Linked DNA regions of Homo sapiens: region 1 is linked to region 2. Evidence: promoter capture Hi-C in 16 types of primary human blood cells and fetal thymus (Javierre and others, 2016). All regions are on one chromosome and are shown on one strand. The core of a region is centred on a gene start or on the middle of the fragment in contact, and the rest is flanking DNA. Distances in the headings are between cores, read along the strand shown. Region 1 overlaps THUMPD3 (THUMP domain 3 tRNA guanosine methyltransferase). Region 2 holds the start of FANCD2 (FA complementation group D2).

Region 1 (3,850 bases), core at 325-2,824, 660 kb after region 2:
CCCAAAGTGCTGGGATTACAGGTGTGAGCCACCATGCCCAACCCAGAATATTTCAAAAAACAAACAAACAAAAATCCAAAACATTTCTGGTCCCGAGTATTTCAGATAAGGGATACTCAACTTGTATATGAAAAAAAAGCATAGCGCAGAAAAGTATGTATGCTATGCTTTCATTTGTGTAAATAAAATACATTTATTCGTAAAATATCTCCAGAATAATACCCAAGAAATTGCTAACAGTTGTTGCCTCCAGGGAGGGAGCTGCATAGCATGAGGATATAGGAACAAAGACTTACTTTTCACTCTATATCCATTCAGTCTTTACAAGTTTGCTCCAAATACATGTATTAACTAGTCTTTAAAAACCCATATAAATCACAGATTTGTTCATACTTTTAAAAAGGCAGATGGAGGCCAGGCGCGGTGGCTTACGCCTGTAACCCCAGCACTTTGAGAGGCCAAGACAGGTGGATCACGAGGTCAGGAGTTCAAGACCAGCCTGGCCAAGATGCTGAAACCCCGTCTCTACTAAAAATACAAAAATTAGCCGGGCATGGTGGCATATGCCTATAGTCCCAGCTACTCGGGAGGCTGAGGCAGGAGAATCGCTTGAACCCAGGTGGCAGAGGTTGCAGTAGGCTGAGATTGTGCCACTGCACTCCAGCCTAGGCAACAGAGCAAGACTCTGTCTCAAAAAAAAAAAAAAAAAAAATATGCGCGGGTGGAGGTGGGGAATGGGGGCCAGGTGCAATGGCTTACACCTGTAATCCCAGCACTTTGGGAGGCTTAAGTGGGAGGATCACTTGAGCCCAGAAGTTTGAGACCAGCCTGGGCAACATAGTGAGACCCCATCTCAATATTTTTTAAAAGAGGGGGGTGGGGACTAATAAATTCATGATTATCATCTGAATACTTAAGAGAACTCATTAGAATTGCTTTAAGCTTTTCTAAAAGTTAGATTTTTACTTAATACAATTTTTATCTATTTTCAGTCTGACTTTTTTTTTTGAGATGGAGTCTCGCTCTGTCGCCCAGGCTGGAGTGCAGTGGTGTGATCTCTGCTCACTGCCAGCTCCGCCTCCCGGGTTCACGCCATTCTCCTGCCTCAGCCTCCTGAGTAGCTGGGACTACAGGCGCCCACCACTACGCCCGGCTAATTTTTTATATTTTTAGTAGAGACGGGGTTTCACCGTGTTAGCCAGGATGGTCTCGATCTCCTGACCTCATGATCCACCCGCCTCGGCCTCCCAAAGTGCTGGGATTACAGGTGTGAGCCACCACGCCAGGCCCTTAAGTCTGACTTCTTTTAGGTCTGGTCTTATTGTTTTCTAGGCTGAGGGTTCATACAACTTTGACTCGTTTTTGAATAACGTTTTGGAAATCAACATGCTTGCCAATAAATAAAAGTTAGACAATTAGGTAGCGTATCACAGTTGTTTTTAAAAAGATTATTTCTAAGATACGTAAAACTGATAGAAAAATGTTTTTAAGCGGTTAACTCTAGAAACCTAACCAAAAAGCAGTGTGGAAAAAACCTAAAGCCTTGCTGCAATCTATTTTCAACCTTCAGCTTAGGCAGCAGCTGAATATTTAGGATTCAGATGCTAAATACATATTGGAGACAAAGCTGTTGTCCTAACAACTGAAGGAGTATTTAGATGTTATTTTGGCTTTATTTCAAAAAATGAAGAAAGAGAAGAAAGCAGAGCAAAAGCAGGATGGTGAGGAAGTGTTATTTGTAGAAGACACAAACTGTCACTTGTTCTTTGGTTCATGTTCTGGAAGCAATTCTCTTTTGGAACTAAATATATGTAAAAGCAAAGCAAATCTAAGGTTTATATCTCTTACAAGTAAAACAAGGTGTTTTCTTCTTTCTTATAAACTTTAATGGTTTTCAATACTAATTTTCAAAAAACATCTTTTGGGATAGACTGTCAGCAAAACTCTAGATTTTACTGTAAAAGCCTCCCAGTATTCTCTATTACAAAGACTACAGTAATGCTAAACTTTCACAGACTATGAAAAATGGAAATAATCTCTTTGTGGAAGACAGCCAAAAATCAGCCACCATGTTTAGGATAGCTCACCTTTGTTTGTTTGAACTGGTAATCTTGAAACTCCTGAACCACCACAAATAAGTTATCAACTGATCTCAGACAATGAACCTGGGTGAAAAAAAAAGAAACACATTTCTGAGAAAGCTTTTGAACAGCACAAGCTATCAACAATTAAGTATTTAAAAAATTAGGAATGATAGTTTTAAAGCAGCTACTAACTATATTTTGTATTTTTAAAATGTCCCATCTCCCTAGTTTCTCATCTCTTTGGTTACTAATCAGCTTTCCCCTAGAGAAAGGGAAAAAGGGCAGATGGAAAGAGAGAAGCATGAAGTGTTTTGTGGGCAACACGTCTTTTGTGGGAGAAGAGAAAGGTGAAGCCACTCAGGTGGGCTGTATCATATTTCCTCGATGACTTTCTAGGGTACACTGTATGCTGCAATGGTTAAAAGCAGGGGATTTGAGCTCCAGTTCTGTGATTACTAGCTGAGTGGCCCTGGGGAAATTATTTATGTGTCCTAAGCCTAATGATTAATGAGGATAATAATAGTGCCTATCTTCACAAAGCTGCTGAGGGTATTGGCTAAAATATTGGATGGAAAACATTTGCTTACCAATTCATCCCACAGATATTTTCTGGGTACCTACTATATGCCAGACACTAAGAGCGTGGGATATATTGGTGGAAAAAAAAATAGACAACAATCCTTGCCCTCTCACTGCTTATGTGGTAATGAGATATATCAGCTTTATGATAGTGAGATTGCAGTTTTCTGACCTTCACTTTTTACCTTGAGTGAGTCCTAATTACTTCTGAGCAAGAATTTTTGATGCAAATTAAAAGGAAAATCTCTTTTATGTTTCATCACCAAAGGTTAAACATCTGCTATATGCTGAAGTAAATAAATACTGAGATACTTAGAGAATTTCTTAAGTTGAACAGTATTCTTTCTGGTGAATTCAATCCTCAAGAAATACTAGATCACCTCTAAAAATGTAGCAATCCTACTACAGGTTGAGCAGCCCACATCTAAAAATCTGAAACTTTTTGAGCCCCAACACAATGCTGAAAGGAAATGCTCAGTGCAGCATTTCGGATTTTCAGATTAGAAATGCTCAACTGGCAGGCCGAGCGCAGTGGCTCAGGCCTGTAATCCCAGCACTTTGGGAGGTCGAGGCGGGTGGATCACGGGGTTAGGAGTTCGAGACCAGCCTGGCCAGGATGGTGAAACCCCGTTTCTACTAAATATACAAAAATTAGCCAGATGCGGTGGCGGGCGCCTGTAGTCCCAGCTACTGGGGAGGCTGAGGCAGGAGAATTGCTTGAACCTGGGAGGCGGAGGTTGCAGTGAGCCAAGATCGCGCCATTGCACTCCAGCCTGATGACAGAGCAAGACTCTGTCTCAAAGAAAAAGAAAAAAAAAAGAAATGCTCAACTGGCAAGTATAATGCAAATATTCCAAAACTCCCCCCACCCCCCTCCAAAAATCTGAAACACTTTTGGTCCTAAGGGATACTGAAACTACAGTCAAAATTACAAATCAGTACTCAATAGAAAATGCAGTAACTTTAAAATCACCTGATTTGGGGCAGAGCAATGAAAATCAGAAAGGATTCCAGAAGGGTCTATAAAATGAAAAGTAACCATAAAATGATCAACTTAGAAAACTATTTTAAATATTGCTCCATTCAAACCTGTGCCAGACTTTCCACTGAAATGACAAAATATATCTTGCCACGGTCTCTGCTGATTTTGCATGATGACCCAAGTTTCTCTCTGACTTCATCTGCAG
Region 2 (3,937 bases), core at 1,410-3,909:
AACATAGCATGTGTCTAGATCATAATATTTTTTTTCCAAGAGAGGAAGAAAGACCATAAAGTTTTTTAAGGGTACAGACTATGTTATGTCTTTGTGTCTCAACACCTAAATGATGTATAGCAGAAAAAGTCTGTAACACTAATTCCTCTTATGGATGTGGAGACTGAGGTCCAGAGGCTGTGGTCATACTCAAAGTTATACGCAGAATTCGAGGCAAAAACTCAGTCCCAAATCTGATATTTCTCCCTTAATTCTGTGCACTCCATTCATTACACTTTGAAGATTCTCAGCACTTGAAAAGCAGGAACTTTATATCTCTCACATGCCTCACACATTGCTACAGGAAATAAAGCAACAAATGACTAGATACTTACTGGAGGCATCTTCTGTCAGGCTCTCTTTATCCTCAGATTTTGACAGTCTTCTTTTGGAAACCATTTTGACCAATGTCTTGTGCACTTAAATTACTTCCTAGAGCAAAATCGGGAAACAGAAGTTACCCTCTAGAAGATAAATTCTGAGAAGTTAAAGCTATTGTTCAAAGAAAACTGCTCTATCCAAAATCAGAGGGGCTCACATCTCCATATTAATGCTACCTAAACCTAGGTGCTAAGCAAATTTCAACTCTTACATCTAGCCAATACTACCTTCCTTTCAAGTCTTAGTTACCTCTTTAGGCAGACTACTTCGCTGTTGCTGAAGGATAAAACCCATCACTCTCCATCTGAGATTCAAGACCCTCCATTATCTATCCCCAACGTACCTGTCCTTTAATTCATGATTTCAATACTATATGTTAGGGACTGTGCTAGGTGCTGGGGTTACAACTGTGAACTAGACAGACATGATCCCTGTCCTCAGGGAATTTACAGTATGGTAACAAATAGCCTTAATGTACTGAACTACAGTTATGTAAGTGCTATAAAAGTACAGGTTCTATGAGGGCTTACTAGGAAATTTAGTCTAGTTGCTAGTAAGGGTGGTAAAGAGAAGCAAGGACCATTTCTTAGGGACAATCTCCTTGAATTTTTTTTTTTTTTTTTTTAGTAGAGACAGGGTTTCACCATGTCGGCTAGGCTGGTCTCAAACTCCTGACCTCAAGTGATCCACCCACCTCGGCCTCCCAAAGTGCTGGGATTACAGGTGTGAGCCGCCCGGCCTAAAGAAGTGATTTTTTTTTTTTTTTTTTTTGAGACGGAGTCTCACTCTGTCACCCAGGCTGGAGTGCAGTGGTGCAGCCTCGGCTCACTGCAAGCTCCACCTCCCGGGTTCACACCATTCTCCTGCCTCAGCTTCCCAAGTAGCTGGGACTACAGGCGCCCGCCACCACGCCCGGCTAATTTTTTGTATTTTTAGTAGAGACGGGGTTTCACCGTGTTACCCAGGATAGTCTTGATCTCATAACCTCATAATCCGCCCGCCTCGGACTCCCAAAGTGCTGGGATTACAGGCGTGAGCCAACCGCGCCCGGCCTGAAGAAGTGATTTTTAGGCAGGGACTTGAGGGCTGAAACAGCAGTTAGCCAGTAGAAGGGGTAGGAGAAGAGGAGTCCAGGCAAATAGATACTCATACTGAAACAAGGAGATGTGGAGTTAGAAATCAGACAGCAGAGGTGGGGGAAGTGCCTGAATCACATGACCTTTTAATCTTGTAAATCAGAACCTTCGTGGTCTCAGTGCCTTTGCACAAAGGTGTTCTTTTCATCTGAAGTGCTCTTATTTGCCTGGAAATTCCTACTCAGATCTAAACATTCAATCGAATGTCATCTTCCTTGAAAAGTGTTCCTCCTATCCCTAAGGGAGTTTGCTACTGCAGCTTCCCTGCTCCACAGGGTATACCTAGGGGCCCTTACCTCACACTAGACTGGGGCTCTTTGAGAGCAGGAACCCAGTCTCACTTACTCAATGTCCCTAATGCCCAGCATAGTTACCGGCATAAGGAAAATTTCTGAGAATATTCAGAGTGAAAAAAGCTCGCAGTGCAGGGGAAATGCTAAAAGCTAACAAGAACTGTTTCAAGTGCTTTATATTTAATAATTCATTTATTTCCCACAAAACTTTTTGAGGTGGGTACCATTATTCTCATCATCACGGGCAGAACTGGGATTCTAACTCGGAGTCTGGCTTCAGCACCTGCGCTCTTCACCACCTATACTTACTCTTGATGATTATAATGACTTCTAATAATGGTTAACATTTACGAGGTACCGGGCCCTGTGCTAAACTTTTTATTTATCGCCGCTTCGGTTAATACGGATAACCATTATCAGCCATCTTGCAGATGGAAAAACTAAGTCTTGTCAGCACGTCCGGCTTCCAGGCACCCGCCTTTAACACGTGCGATACCATCTGGCTTCCAGAAAAGCCCAACAGAAGTGAGATGAGGCCGACTGCCTGGATTAGTTCATCGGGAAGCGGGTGAGGGTAAAAGCCTTTCTCGTTTCCGCATTTTAATGACGCAGAAAGGTACCTGTGGGGATTATCCCATCTCAGGGCAGATGAGGAAGCCAAGGTTCGGGGCGCGGAGCCCCAGAGGAGAACGCCGACCGCGGCCCGGACTTAGAGATTAGGCCGCAGGGGAGCGGGGCCTCGAGAGACTACGACCATTGCTCCACTTACTCACCGAGAAGCCGTCGCCGCCCGTAGTTTTCGACTTTCCCGCCAGGCCCGACGCCGCTCTGACGCCACCGAGGCGCGCCATGACGTGACGCCAACTTCCGCGCCGGAAGTGGAAGGCCGGGCAGCCCAGCTGAAGGCAATAAGCTGGGCTCACCGCTGCAGCAGAGTTCTGTGCTAGCCGGGCATAGGGGCGAGAGAAGGCCCAGAGGCGACGTCAGAGAGAAGCAACTGCGCCCCGGTGAAGAGAAGCTCGCCCATCACCGGCTGGGAGCCAGCTTTCAGTGAAGATGGCAGGGCCAGAACTGTTGCTTGACTCCAACATCTGCCTCTGGGTGGTCCTACCCATCGTTATCACTCTTCGTAGACATGATCCGCCACTACGTGTCCATCCTGCTGGAGAGCGACAAGAAGCTCACCCAGGAACAAGTATCTGACAGGTCAGCGCCCTCCCTTCCCCAGCCTACCTCACACCGCCGTGACCTTGGACAAGAAAGTGCAGGCGTTGTGTCAGTTTGCCTAGGTTCACGTCTCGCCCCCACTGGCAAGGTGACCTTACCCGTTACCTCTGTGTTTCACTTTTGTCCTCTGTGAAATGGGGATAATAACAGTACCTCCCTCATAGACAGGTGGGAATCAAATTAGATGATGTCTGTAAATCCCTTAGCACAGGATCTAGGACGTATTGAGTGTTAAAAACAAAAAACAAAAACGGTGCTGTTAATCCTTTAGGTTAGTCGCCAACCCTCGGTGGGTTTACCTATGAACTATCCCATCCCACCCTTTCGTTGGGAAGAGTGCCTGGTGCTTTATAGCTTTTAGTATTTGTAACATCCAGTCAAGTGAGTGTGATAATCTGCATTCTACCAAATTACTGTTCCAATGGTTAGCTGAGATGCTAAGCACCAAAGCGCTTTGCAATCTGTAACACTGCTGTTAGACATGTAAGGAATTGTAATTATCATTTCCCTTCCTAGGGTGGAGGCAACTTCCTCACATACTTCATTGCAGTATTTATTTATTTATTTAATTTAACTTAATTTAATTTTTGAGACGGAGTTTCGCTCTTGTTGCACTAGATTAAGTATCTATTATTTTTCCGTTTGCATATTTTATCACTTGAACAGAAACTCTGAGCGCAGGGTCATGACCTTGCCTTACTCTATACCCCATAGCATGCAGCAGAGTGCAAGGCACATGGTAGGCCATCAAAAAACTTGTTCACAGCCAGGCGTGGTGGCTCTCACCTGTAATCTCAATACTTTGGGAGGCTGAGGTGGGAGGATCGCTTGAGCCCTGGAGTTCAAGACCAGCCTGGGCAA

What was found. The method cuts DNA at HindIII sites, captures the fragments that hold promoters and counts their contacts. A CHiCAGO score of 5 or more calls a contact.
Region 1: a fragment that was not itself captured here is called in contact with the fragment with the promoter of FANCD2 in region 2 in 1 of 17 cell types (fetal thymus); the score reaches 5.2 in fetal thymus.

The regions. Positions count from the first base shown.
Region 1 is chr3:9,365,223-9,369,072 of GRCh38, reverse strand. It overlaps THUMPD3 (THUMP domain 3 tRNA guanosine methyltransferase), which reads right to left. Exons shown (of 10, transcript NM_001114092.2): 2 at 3,753-3,850; 3 at 2,088-2,165. Among named protein-coding and RNA genes, the nearest start is that of THUMPD3, 4.1 kb to the right of the region's middle. The HindIII fragment of the contact is 1,259 bases long and covers 945-2,203 here.
Region 2 is chr3:10,025,159-10,029,095 of GRCh38, reverse strand. FANCD2 (FA complementation group D2) reads right to left here and starts at 2,659. Exons shown (of 44, transcript NM_001018115.3): 1 at 2,623-2,659; 2 at 375-471. The coding sequence starts at 438. It also overlaps the pseudogene CIDECP1. RefSeq lists enhancers at 1,926-2,560, 2,561-3,196, 3,832-3,937. The HindIII fragment of the contact is 7,543 bases long and covers 1-3,937 here.